2 separate regions of the Homo sapiens genome follow, and region 1 is linked to region 2. Evidence: promoter capture Hi-C in 16 types of primary human blood cells and fetal thymus (Javierre and others, 2016). All regions are on one chromosome and are shown on one strand. The core of a region is centred on a gene start or on the middle of the fragment in contact, and the rest is flanking DNA. Distances in the headings are between cores, read along the strand shown. Region 1 holds the start of CFAP410 (cilia and flagella associated protein 410). Region 2 holds the start of PWP2 (PWP2 small subunit processome component).

What was found. The method cuts DNA at HindIII sites, captures the fragments that hold promoters and counts their contacts. A CHiCAGO score of 5 or more calls a contact.
Region 1: the fragment with the promoter of CFAP410 here is called in contact with the fragment with the promoter of PWP2 in region 2 in 2 of 17 cell types (total B cells and naive B cells); the score reaches 5.4 in total B cells.

What each region holds. Positions count from the first base shown.
Region 1 is chr21:44,338,028-44,344,047 of GRCh38, reverse strand. It overlaps CFAP410 (cilia and flagella associated protein 410), which reads left to right and starts at 4,658. Exons shown (of 7, transcript NM_004928.3): 1 at 4,658-4,930. The coding sequence starts at 4,854. RefSeq lists enhancers at 33-588, 1,331-1,974, 1,975-2,617, 4,480-4,699 and silencers at 4,700-5,069, 5,370-5,489. The HindIII fragment of the contact is 4,638 bases long and covers 1,206-5,843 here.
Region 2 is chr21:44,103,322-44,108,761 of GRCh38, reverse strand. It overlaps PWP2 (PWP2 small subunit processome component), which reads right to left and starts at 1,363. Exons shown (of 21, transcript NM_005049.3): 1 at 1,328-1,363. The coding sequence starts at 1,345. It overlaps TRAPPC10 (trafficking protein particle complex subunit 10), which reads right to left. Exons shown (of 23, transcript NM_003274.5): 23 at 2,210-5,440. The coding sequence ends at 5,231. RefSeq lists silencers at 1,327-1,710, 1,301-1,817. The HindIII fragment of the contact is 7,342 bases long and covers 1-5,440 here.

The sequences.
Region 1 (6,020 bases), core at 3,409-5,908, 230 kb before region 2:
TGCCCTACAAACCATAAATTCTCATCAGACGGGTTTTATTTAACCCTATATGTCATAACTTACTTTCCAATCTGACTCTGGCATAACATGACAAGGAATAAAATCAAAATATTTTACCCCGAAACATGTTTCCTGCCATATTTTGAGACGCTCCTGCAAAGCCGTCCTTTGTGGGAGAAAATGTGCATCTGGAAGGAATCTCTATTCACATAGCTTGATCTTTTTCTTCCAGGCCCTCCCAATCCTGACGAGATTAACTGAGAGTCTAGCACCTTTTAAAGGTGTGAATAGGAAACATTCGTCATCGATTGTCTCTAAGGGCAGCCATTAAAGACTTCAAAAGAACCTTGGTCCCCACAGTCTTTTTTTTTCTTTTTTTCTGTGCAGTGGCGCAATCTCGGCTCACTGCAAGCTCCGCCTCCCGGGCTCACACCATTCTCCTGCCTCAGCCTCCCGAGTAGCTAGGACTACAGGCGCCCGCCCCCATGCCCAGCTAATTTTTTTGTTTGTTTTTTGTATTTTTAGTAGAGACAGGGTTTCACCGTGTTAGCCAGGATGGTCTCGATCTCCTGACCTCGCGATCCGCCCGCCTCGGCCTCCCAAAGTGCTGGGATTACAGGCGTGAGCCCCCGTGCCCAGCGGTCTCCACAGTCTTTTATCTGAACCTGAGCATTTCCTTTCTATGGATCCCAGGTCTTTAGACAAACTCAACCGTCAACCAGAAAATGTTTAAATTCACCGATAGCCTGGAAGCCCCCACTTTGAGTTGTCCCGCCTTTCTGAATCAAACCAACGTATTTCTTAAATGTATTAGATTGCTGTCTCATGCCTTCCTAAAAAGTAAAAAACCAAGCTGTGCCCCGACCACCTTGGACACATGTTCTCAGGATTTCCTGAGGGCTGCGTCACGGGCCATGGTCATTCATATCTGGCTCAGAATAAATCTCTTAAAATATTTTACAGAGTTTGACTCTTTTTGTCAACACCACGATATAGAAGGTTAAATAAAACCCATCTGATGAGAATTTATGGTTTGTAGGGCATGACTGTCCATGCCCTTTAGGAATTTGGGCAAGATAAAAAAAGAAAAATCAGAGTTTAGTCCTCAATTACTTCAAGGCCGAGAGTGAGTTCTGGCCTTGAAGTAATCTTGTTGGAGACAGAATGAGGTGTCCGGTCCCTTTCAGGAGCTGACCCCTGAAGCTTCCAAGCAAAGAGATGACCAGATAAGTGAGCATGGTGTGTGCTTAACAGGCATCCAGGTAAACTAAATGTGCATAAGGCCTGAGAGCACAGGATGGGAACGGAGTGGAGGTTCACATTCCCAGGCTGTATTTCAAGATGGAAGGTAACACAAGCAGCTTGTCTCAGTTACATCTTCAGACTAGGGTGGAGGAGGAGGAAAGGGGAAAGGGGAAAAAGTTTTAAAACATGGTTTGAGGCTTAGCTGTGTGAAAGGAATATAAAGCTCAAGACCTTAAAATCACTAAGTCAAGGGAAAAGTCAGCTGGAAAATGCATCAGGCAAACCTGCCTCCAATTTTATTCCTAAATAAGATCGCTACAAAGATAAAAAGCTATGAAGCTCCCTCACAATTTGCCCACAAGGAAATTCCTTGTGGGCCTCAAGATCTTTACCCTCAAACAGTTCTGTTGAATTTCACCCTGGAATGTAAACTGATAGCTGATCTTCACAGGTGTGGGACAGGAGGTCATCCCCCTGCTCACCGGAGACACATGCCTATCTGTTTGCTTTCTCTGCCTTATTGTTTATGTAAAAATGCAGATTTACTAAGCTAGACCAAATTGTGTATTCAGTGAAAGGACTCAAAAGAATGCAATCTTTTGTCTCTTATCCACCGATGACCTGGAAGCTGGAAGCCTCCCTCCACCCCCACAACCCCACCCGGCCTTCAAGGTGTCCTGCCTTTCCAGACTGAACTAATGTACATCTTTTTTTTTTTTTTAAGACGGAGTCTCGCTCTTGTTGCGCAGACTGGAGTGCAATGGCACAGTCTCGGCTCACTGCAACCTCTGCCTCCCGGGTTCAAGCGATTCTCCTGCCTCAGCCTCCAAAGTAGTTGGGATTACAGGCGCCCACTGTCAGGCCTCTGAGCCCAAGCTAAGCCACCATGTCCCCTGTGACCTGCACGTACACATCCAGATGGCTGGTTCTCGCCTTAACTGATGACATTCCACCATAAAAGAAGTGAAAATGGCCTGTTCCTGCCTTAACTGATAACATTGTCTTGTGAAATTCCTTCTCCTGGCTCATCCTGGCTCAAAAGCTCCCCTACTGAGCACCTTGTGACTCCCACTCTGCCCGCCAGAGAACAACCCCCCTTTGACTATAATTTTCCTTTATCTACCCAAATCCTATAAAACGGCCCCACCCTTATCTCCCTTCACTGACTCTCTTTTCAGACTCAGCCCACCTGCACCCAGGTGAAATAAACAGCTTGATTGCTCACACAAAGCCTGTTTGGTGGTCTCTTCACATGGACACGAGTGAAACCCACCACCGCGCCCAGCTAATTTTTTGTATTTTTAGTAGAGACAGGGTTTCACTATGTTGGCCAGGCTGGTCTCGAACTCCTGACCTCAGGCCATCCACCTGCCTCAGCCTCCCAAAGTACTGGGATTATAGGCGTGAGCCACCGCGCCCGGCTTAATGTACATCTTATACATATATTTTTTCTTCTTTTTCCATCTTACACATATTGATTGATGTCTCATGTCTCCCTAAAAATGTATGAAAGCAAGCTGTGCCCCAGCCACCCAGGGCACATGTCATCAGGACCTCCTGAGGCTGTGTCATGGGCTTGTCCTTAACCTTGACAAAATAAACTTTCTAAACAGATTGAGTCCTGTCTCAGATATTTTGGATTCACAGCTGCTAAGCTGCTCGGTTACAATTGAAGGCTCATGGGTTAGGGGTTGTTCAAAGGTAGTTTGGTGAACAGGGGGCTAGGGCATGGGGAGTGCTGATTGGTTAGGTGCGAGATGAAATCTAGCTGTCCTTTTGGTCCTTTTGTGCTGCATGGCTTCTGGGTGGGGCCACAGGAGCTGTTGGCAAGACATTTAGCTGGATCCATCCGTGTGAGACATGCAAGAAACCTGCAAAGGTACAATAGTGATGTTACCTGCAGGAGTAATTGGGGAAGTAGCTTATCTTGTGACCTCCAGAATAATGGCTGACGAATGTTTACATCTGCATCTTAGTGGAATTCATGCTCCTCTATCCTTCTAGGCTGGTAGTGTAACCGCCCAATGGGTTCGCCTTGCCCACTGCCTAGACAGAACCGATTTATCAAGGCAACGGAATTGCAATGGAGAAAGAGTAATACACACAGAGCTGGCTGTGCAGGAGAGCAGAGTTTTATTATCACTCAAATCAGTCTCCCCAAGCATTCGGGGATCCGTGTTTTTAAGGATAATTTGGCGGGTATGGGCTCAGAAAGTGGTGAGTGCTGATTGGTCAGGTCGAAGATTAAATCATAGGGGGTCAAAATGAGTTCTGGCTGACTTCTGTCCCTGGGTGGGATCACACACATGGTTGAGCCAGATTATCCGTTTGGGTGGTGTCATCTGCTGCATCTGAATGCAGGGTCTACAAAATATTTCAAGCACTGACCTTAAGTTTTGCAACAGTGATGTTATTCCCAGAAGCAATTTGGGGAGGTTCAGACTCTTGCCGCCAGAGGTTGCATGGCCCCTAAACTGTAATTTTTAATCTCGTAGCTTAATTTGTTAGTCCTACAAAGGCAGACTGGTCCCCAGGCAAGAAGGGTTTTTTTGGGAAAGGGCTATTATCAATTTTGTTTCAGTTTAATCTATAAACTAAATTCCTTCCCAAGGCTAGTCTGGTCTACACCCAGGAATGAACAAAAGCAGCTTAGAGGATAGCAGGAAGATGGGGTGGGTGAGGAGATCTTCCCCTGTCATAATTTCTTCAGTTATGATTTTTGCAAAGGCGGTTTCAGTGGTCTCATTAGCTTTACAAAGGCTGTTTAGTTTTGAGGAAGGGCTGCTATCACTTAAACTATAAATGTCTCCCAAAGTTACCTTTGCTTATCCAGGAATAATTAAGGGCAGTTTTAAGGCCAAAGGCAAGATGGGGGTTGGCCAGATCTCCTTCAAGGCCAACCTTCTCTCACCGATACAATTTTTTGCAAAGGCGGTTTCAGAACGTCAGAACGCCTGTCTTAATGTAACTGTGGCCCATGTAACGATGTTTAGAGGGTCTTATCTGATTTCTAAAAGGTTGAAATGCTTGTAAGGGCTCTGCTGGACCTGCCCGTGCGTCTTTCCTATAAATGCGTCTTTTCTGTAAATGCTGGGAGGGAGGGAGACAAGGAATCAACACAGCCCCAGGGCTGCCCTGGGTTTATTCCAAGAGTTTGAATCGCGTAACTTGGAGCTGTGTAGCGCCCATGCCATCCACGCTAGGCCTGCGCTCAGAGTCAGGCCTAGGCACTCGGCCATGATGCGCGTCGGACCGAGCCCACCCCGCTCGGTTCCTGGGAGCAGCAGTTCAGCCCTCACTGGGCCGACTCGGGGACCGCCACCTGCACCCACCCTCTGCTCGCTGCGCGCTTCCGGGGTCGCGTTAGAATCGCGTCAGAGAAGGGCGCCCCAGGCCGCGCATGAGCAGGAGCAGAGCCAACGTGTCAGCGGCGCCCAAGCGGCCCCAGCGGGCTCGCGTCGCCCCGCTCTCCTCACCGAGCCGCCAATCGGCTCAGGATCCGCCCCTGACGACGCGGGCCCCGCCCCTGGAGACACGCGCCGCGCAGTCGTCACCCGCCCGGGATCAGGAGGCCGGGGGCGCCCGCCGGTCGGGCCTGGGCGGCCGCCATGAAGCTGACGCGGAAGATGGTTCTGACCCGGGCCAAGGCCTCGGAGCTGCACAGCGTGCGCAAGCTCAACTGCTGGTGAGGCGGGGCCTGGCCGCGGCCGCCCCGGGGTGGGGGGAGGAGCCGGGGCGGGGCGAGGGCGGAGCCGGAGGGAGGAGCCGGGGCGGGGAGAGGGCGGAGCCGGAGGGAGGAGCCGGGGCGGGACGAGGGCGGAGCCGGAGGGAGGAGCCGGGGCGGGGAGAGGGCGGAGCCGGGGCGGGGAGAGGGCGGAGCCGGGGCGGGGAGAGGGCGGAGCCGGAGGGAGGAGCCGGGGCGGGACGAGGGCGGAGCCGGAGGGAGGAGCCGGGGCGGGACGAGGGCGGAGCCGGAGGGAGGAGCCGGGGCGGGACGAGGGCGGAGCCGGAGGGAGGAGCCGGGGCGGGGCGGGGCGGGGGCGGAGTGGAAGGGGGGAGGGGCAGGGGCGAGGGCGGCGAAGGAGCCGCGGGTGAGGGAGGGGAGGAGGCCGGGGGTCGGGGTCGCCTGGGCCCCCCCCCATTTCCCGGCCCGCCTTTGCCCCGGGTGCCCTGTGGGCTGGGTCTGTTGTCTGGGGTTGCCAGCAGTCACTGGGACCAAGTCGAATAGGAGAGAGAACTGAGCTTTCCAGGACTGAGTCAGGAAACACGTTGGTAATCAGTACTGGGGGCGGCCGTTCCCAGGGTACTCCTAGCAGGTGACAGGAAGGGACGTGGGTGCGGTGGGACCCAGGCAGGCTGAAAGGCAGGTAATGCTGAGTCTCACTGAGCCAAGGAAGACCAGGAGCTTCCAGAAGAGGGAGCCTGGAGTTGAGGCCTGCAAGATCTCCAGGGTTCCCTGGGGACTCAGCAGAGTGACCGCGCCGTGTCAACTGGCCTCACCGTGCAGGCGGGTGTGGGGGTCAGCGAGAGCAGACGCTTCCTCCCAGGGGTGTCCGCAGACTGCCCAGAGTGAGCTCTTCCCTGTTAATTAAAAAGCTTTTCTCTCTGCCCTGGCATATCTGGTGTTTTGGCTACAATTCCCGTGTCATTTGCTTTCAATAATGCATTTCTTTGTTTTGCATGGGGTGGTCAGTACTCCCACTAAGCTGGGAGAAACAACAACCCTGTTTCAGGCTTTTAAAGTTTGCTTCATAAGTTGCCTGTTCACCCTTTGA
Region 2 (5,440 bases), core at 114-2,613:
CACTGAGGAAGCCTCCCAAGACAGGAGGCGTCTGCCAGGTGAAGAGGGGCATGGAGCCCACACTTCACCAAGAAAAAAGCTGCAACAATGGAACAGCACCCCAAAAGTGCTTAGAACTCAGGGCTTCCAGAAGTGTGGTAAGCCAGCATCCTATTTACTAACTCACGAGCACGAGCGTTCACTGGAGACTGCCATGCGCACAGACACGCACACCTTATATTCTCTCTCTAGCAGGAGGGGGATGAGAAGTGTGGGAGCAGGGGCTACTTTAGACGGTGGTCACGGAGAGGCACCTGGAAGGGTCACCTGAGCTGGAATCTAAATGGGAAGGCACCAGCCAGGCCCTGAAGCTGTGAGTGGGCAGCGCCCTCAGGACCTCAGGGAGGAGCTTGGTCAGCAGAAGGACTTTAAGCGGCCAGGCAGGCTCCAAGGCACATTTTTTGCCACCTTGCAGTAGGAATGTGGAGCGGATGAAGTCCTGGCCTGTGAGGACGTGGATATGGTTTCTGGTTTGGTGCTGGGCACACAGCGGTGGCTCCACCAGCACAGGGGACACAGGAGCAGCACTCTGAGGGGCCAGTACCATGCCCAGTTTCGGACAGGACAAGTGTAGTACACGGTGGGCTCAGCAGCAGGCGGCCCGTGCAACCCTGGAAGCGCAACGGTCAGGGCCACTGTGGGAAACACAGGCGTCCCCATAACCGGCCAGCTGTAGCAAACGCTTCAGAGACCCCCAGGCCGGCTCCACGGCCCCCTCTTATTACCTGTCTCACCCGCCTCCTGCACTTCACATCTGGGACAAGTCTTCCCTGGCTCTCAAAGCTGAGGGCGTCCGCCTCAGGAATTCCCTCCGGCCTCGGGAAACAGAGCTCACACCTGGGTTCCCCGCCCTTCCGCTCACCTGGACGCTCGCTCGTTAGGGACCAGTCCCGGGCCCCGGGTCCCTGCTGTTCTCACCCCGCCTGCGCGCGCCCGCGTCCCCGCCCCGTCCCACCTCCTCATCCCTCCCGAGGGTGCTGTGCCCTCCCCGACTGCACCAACTCCAGCCTTTAGGTTGGGCCATACTCAGGTTAAAAATATCCCGGGACCCCGACAAATGTCCCTGTTCCCTCCGAGAAGCCGTCGGCGCCTCCGTCCCAGCTCTCCCAGGAGCCCCACCACAGCCCCGCGTCCCCGAGGCCACGGGCGCGCAGACAGCCGGCGACCCCCACGCGGCCAGACGCCGCAAAAGCAGACCACGCGCCCCCAGCCCGCCCGGAGCCAGCTCAGGCGCCGTCCACCGGAAGAGCCGCGCCGATCCAACAGACCGCCCGCCGCCCGCGCTCACCCGGTAAGCGAACTTCATCACGGCCGTCGCACGTGTGCCGCAGCTCAACCCGGCGGCCGCCCACAGAGACACTTCCCGGGGGTCCGCGCGGCACCGCCCACAGCACGCACTTCCGGGAAGCGACGGCGTGCACCGCCCACAGCGCGCGCGCCCGGGACGGGGTCGCGCACCACCGTCCGCAGCGGCCCAGGAGGCAGGAGGAGCTGCGTCGCCCTCGCCCCGCCCCGAGGCGGAGTTTGAACGCGAGGCCCAACCCCTCCCAAGGCGGGGGCCTTCTCCGGGCCCCGCCCACACCCCGGAGCCACACTGCAGGGCGCCTCTTAGGCGCGCTCCAGCGCTGGGCGCGCTCCGCACGGACGCCCAGCCTGGCACAGCAGCGTCCACAACATGAGAGCGCTGCACACCCAAATGTCTTCGTTCTTGTGAACTGTTGGGTAAGGAATTATGAATAAAGTCCCGAATGCTGGCCGGTGCGGTGGCTCACGCCTGGGAGACTGAGGCGGGTGGATGACCTGAGGTCAGCAGTTCGAGACTAGCCTGGCCAACATGGTGAAACATCATCTCTACTAAAGTATAAAAATGAGGCGCATGCCTGTAGTCCCAGCTACTCGGGAGGCTGAGGCAGGAGAATGGCTTGAACCTGGGAGGCGGAGGCTGCAGTGAGCCCAGATCGCGCCATTGCACTCCAGCCTAGGCAACAGAGCATGACTGTCTCAGAGAAAAAAAAAAAAAAAAAAAAAAAAATAATCCGAATGTTTCCCAAAAGGCAAATAATCTATGCCCAAGAGTCAGGAACAAGGACTAGGGAGATAAAACAATAAAATCTTCACATTACATACTGTTGTCACACCATGTCGCAGCAAAAGATCCAGTGCAAAATAGTTTCTTCTTAAAATGTGTATTTTCAGAATTACAATGCTTACATTTTAAAGTCTTAATACAATGGTTTTAATCTAACAATATATTACATAATATGAAAAATGACTTTTCATAGTAAACCATGAAAATGGAATACCTGCAGTGTCAAAGTCACCAACTTGTCACCTTTTCCAGTCACAGAATCCCAACACATTGTATTAATGATGACTGGGGGGGGTCTTACAGCCTGATGTATATAGGATGAATAAATGTAGAGAAAGGAGCATTTTCATGAAAAATAAAATTTAAAAACCAGGTAGGATTTATTTTAAAGAACACAGTTGAAAGTAAAACATTTACATCAGCCCAGTTTGCCCTTTTGTAAAAAGTAGTATAGCTTTTCATTTTATATACAAACCTGCAGTGTCTGATTTCATTTTAAAACTTAATTTTAAGCACTAAAGAAAATTTGAATAGAAGCCTGTGTGTATTTTCTCTGCTAATTCTGTATGGGATATCTGGCATCTCCACTAAGAGTAATTAATACAGGATCTGACCTTCCTAGGCTGTGCTGACAATGGAACTGTTGTAGGTAAAGTCATTTTCAGATTAAATACAACAATTTCCACATTAGAATCAGAAGAGTTATAATTTTTCCAATCATAGGACATCCCATGAAATTCACAAAAATTATAACTTATTTTATTTTCCATTTGACAGTATTTACATGTTCCACAGATATTTGTAAAACGGCTGCAAATTCCTTGCTTTTCAGATACACATTGCATATCTGGCTTCACAATTATTTAACATCTCTTTATCAACAAAACCAGCTTGTCTCAAACACATACACCTTACTTTAGATAAAAACAATAAACATCCAATTACAGTTACTCTTTTAGGACTTTTATGATGAACATTAAGAAAAAAATGACAATTTTGGGTGACATTCTTCTTTGTCTTAAAGAGGCAGAAGCATTCATGTAACATAGTTTGCAAAAGATCTTTTGGGTAATTAGGGGGAAAAAAACTGATAAATTTGATTTCATTTCATTTCCAGGCAATTAAGCGCCGTAAACATTTTAAATTTCCCCTTCACTTTCTTCCTCTAAATATATATGTAGTTGGATAATTTCATCCTGGGAGTAGAACCAGATACAAGAAAATCAAACAGTAATAAATGAAACATTCCCTCTTCCAGAAGGTAAGAGAGAAAGCTACATTACACTGGGGAAGGCTCCCAGGCTGACGACACGGATTACAGTCTCTTCTGACGGAATCAAATCTCCCATCTCTTTATTCACAGGACTTGGTAGAAATGCAGGGCAATCGTCAATTTTTACAATAAAAAACCTTATTTTAGAAACCCTAAACTATCATTAGATTCTGAAGTTCTAATTTGCTAACTAGTTTGACCAAGTTTGTTAAACTGCACATGAGGAAGATAAATTTCTGGAAAGTTTAATTACACAATTATTTATCTTCTTTACACGTCTCCAGTTTCTACAAATGAAAAAGACAGGAGGAAAAAAAAATCACACCACCTTTATTTATTGAATGAGCTAAAAGACAACACAGAGAATACTGGAAATGACGGCTGTCATATTTCCCCGGTCTGTGCCTCCTTCCTCCCATGCCCCACCGCCTCCCGCAAGCACAGTGCTGGGCAGGAACCCGGTGCTCCTTCTCTCCACAACTTGCACATCCACGGGGATTCACACGAGGGCCACCCACTGCTGGACCCGACTCTATCTGCTTGAGCTAATCTTGTCAAGTTCAATTCCAAGCACATTTGCCCAGTAAATTAAGAGTACTCTATTTCAAGTGTACAAAAATACATCGCTTTGGAGAACTGGAAAAGGTTTAATACATACAACACTTATTTACAAGCTGTGACTTTCACACCTGTAAAAACAAACACACTTATTTTTGTCCTTGATTTTTGGTGCAACTTATACATAAACATTACATCAGTTAGTCTGTATTTTTAAAAATAATAAATCAACCATATGTACAATTAAATTTACAACCGAAAGCAAATAATCCATTGGAACAGTGTGACTGCAACTCAGTAGACCAGTGGAGGACATTCCAGGACTTGAGTCCTTCCCTACAACCAGACCAAAAACACACTGAGGACCTCTCTCATCCTCACGATGGAATATCTTAATTTCTAAGACTTAAGATGCAAAAGAAAAATAACGATTATACAGCTACAATTACATGTAAAGACTTTAAAGGGACAGAAAAACAACATATTAACCCCCACATATATAATGATCATTAAATTAAATATATTTAACTCCCAGTGCATATGATATTCTATCAACATTATGGGGGACCACAGGGTTCCAGAAACATTTATCCCTAAACCACCTCACCGCTGAGGCGCTCCTCACAGCCGGGTCTCAGCTTTCTTCAGTACCTTTCACGTGGCTCCGGCTGATGGGCCTCCAGGTCCCCCAGCTCCGGCATCCCAAGGCACAGAAGGGGTTATGATCCCTCCCTCCCCCACCCGCCTCCCCTAGAAGGGTGTTATTCTAGAAAAGCACAATGAGAGGATCTGCGGTAAACGGCTGTTTTACCCCTTAGGGGACACAAATCCACCCCGATCAGGAAACTGGGCAGCTGTGTGACCAGAAAGGCACACACGTCACTAAGACCGTGAGGGCTGCTGAGTGTCTACCTGAAAGACAAATGGCCTTCCACGAAGAGCCAGCAGACGGAGGCTGTTCCGTGGAGACAGCGTGGGTGGAAACTTTCATGAGCAGCGTGTGAGGTAGGGGGAGGGAGGCCAGGGCTCTGAGTAAGCGGCGTCGGACACCAGCATGGGGACGGGGTGAGAAAAGCAGGAATCTGAGATCACAGGCGGCATGAAAACAACAACAGAACTCAGCTGGCCAGCTGCGTGATGACACTCTCTGATGTCCCCACGGCCAGGCAGGACCACTGAAGGTCTGGCTGGAGCCAGAACGGAAGAGTCCAGTCACAGTCCCATAAAGTGCACTCCTAGCTGGGAAGTGGCGTGTGTTCACCCTGGCGTTGTCATGTTACACTGACTTCCAGGACGTGGTCATCTTGGCTGGGGATGACCAGGACTTGTGTGCCCGAGCTGGAGTTGAAGACCTGGCCGGCCGGCAGTGCCTGCAGCCGGGGCATGGGTAGGCCTTTGTGCTCGCTGCTGCAGGCCGAATGCACGCTGCCCCTGCTCTTGAGGCTGCTGCTGTCCGGCTGGTCGTCCCCGTGCTTGTCTAC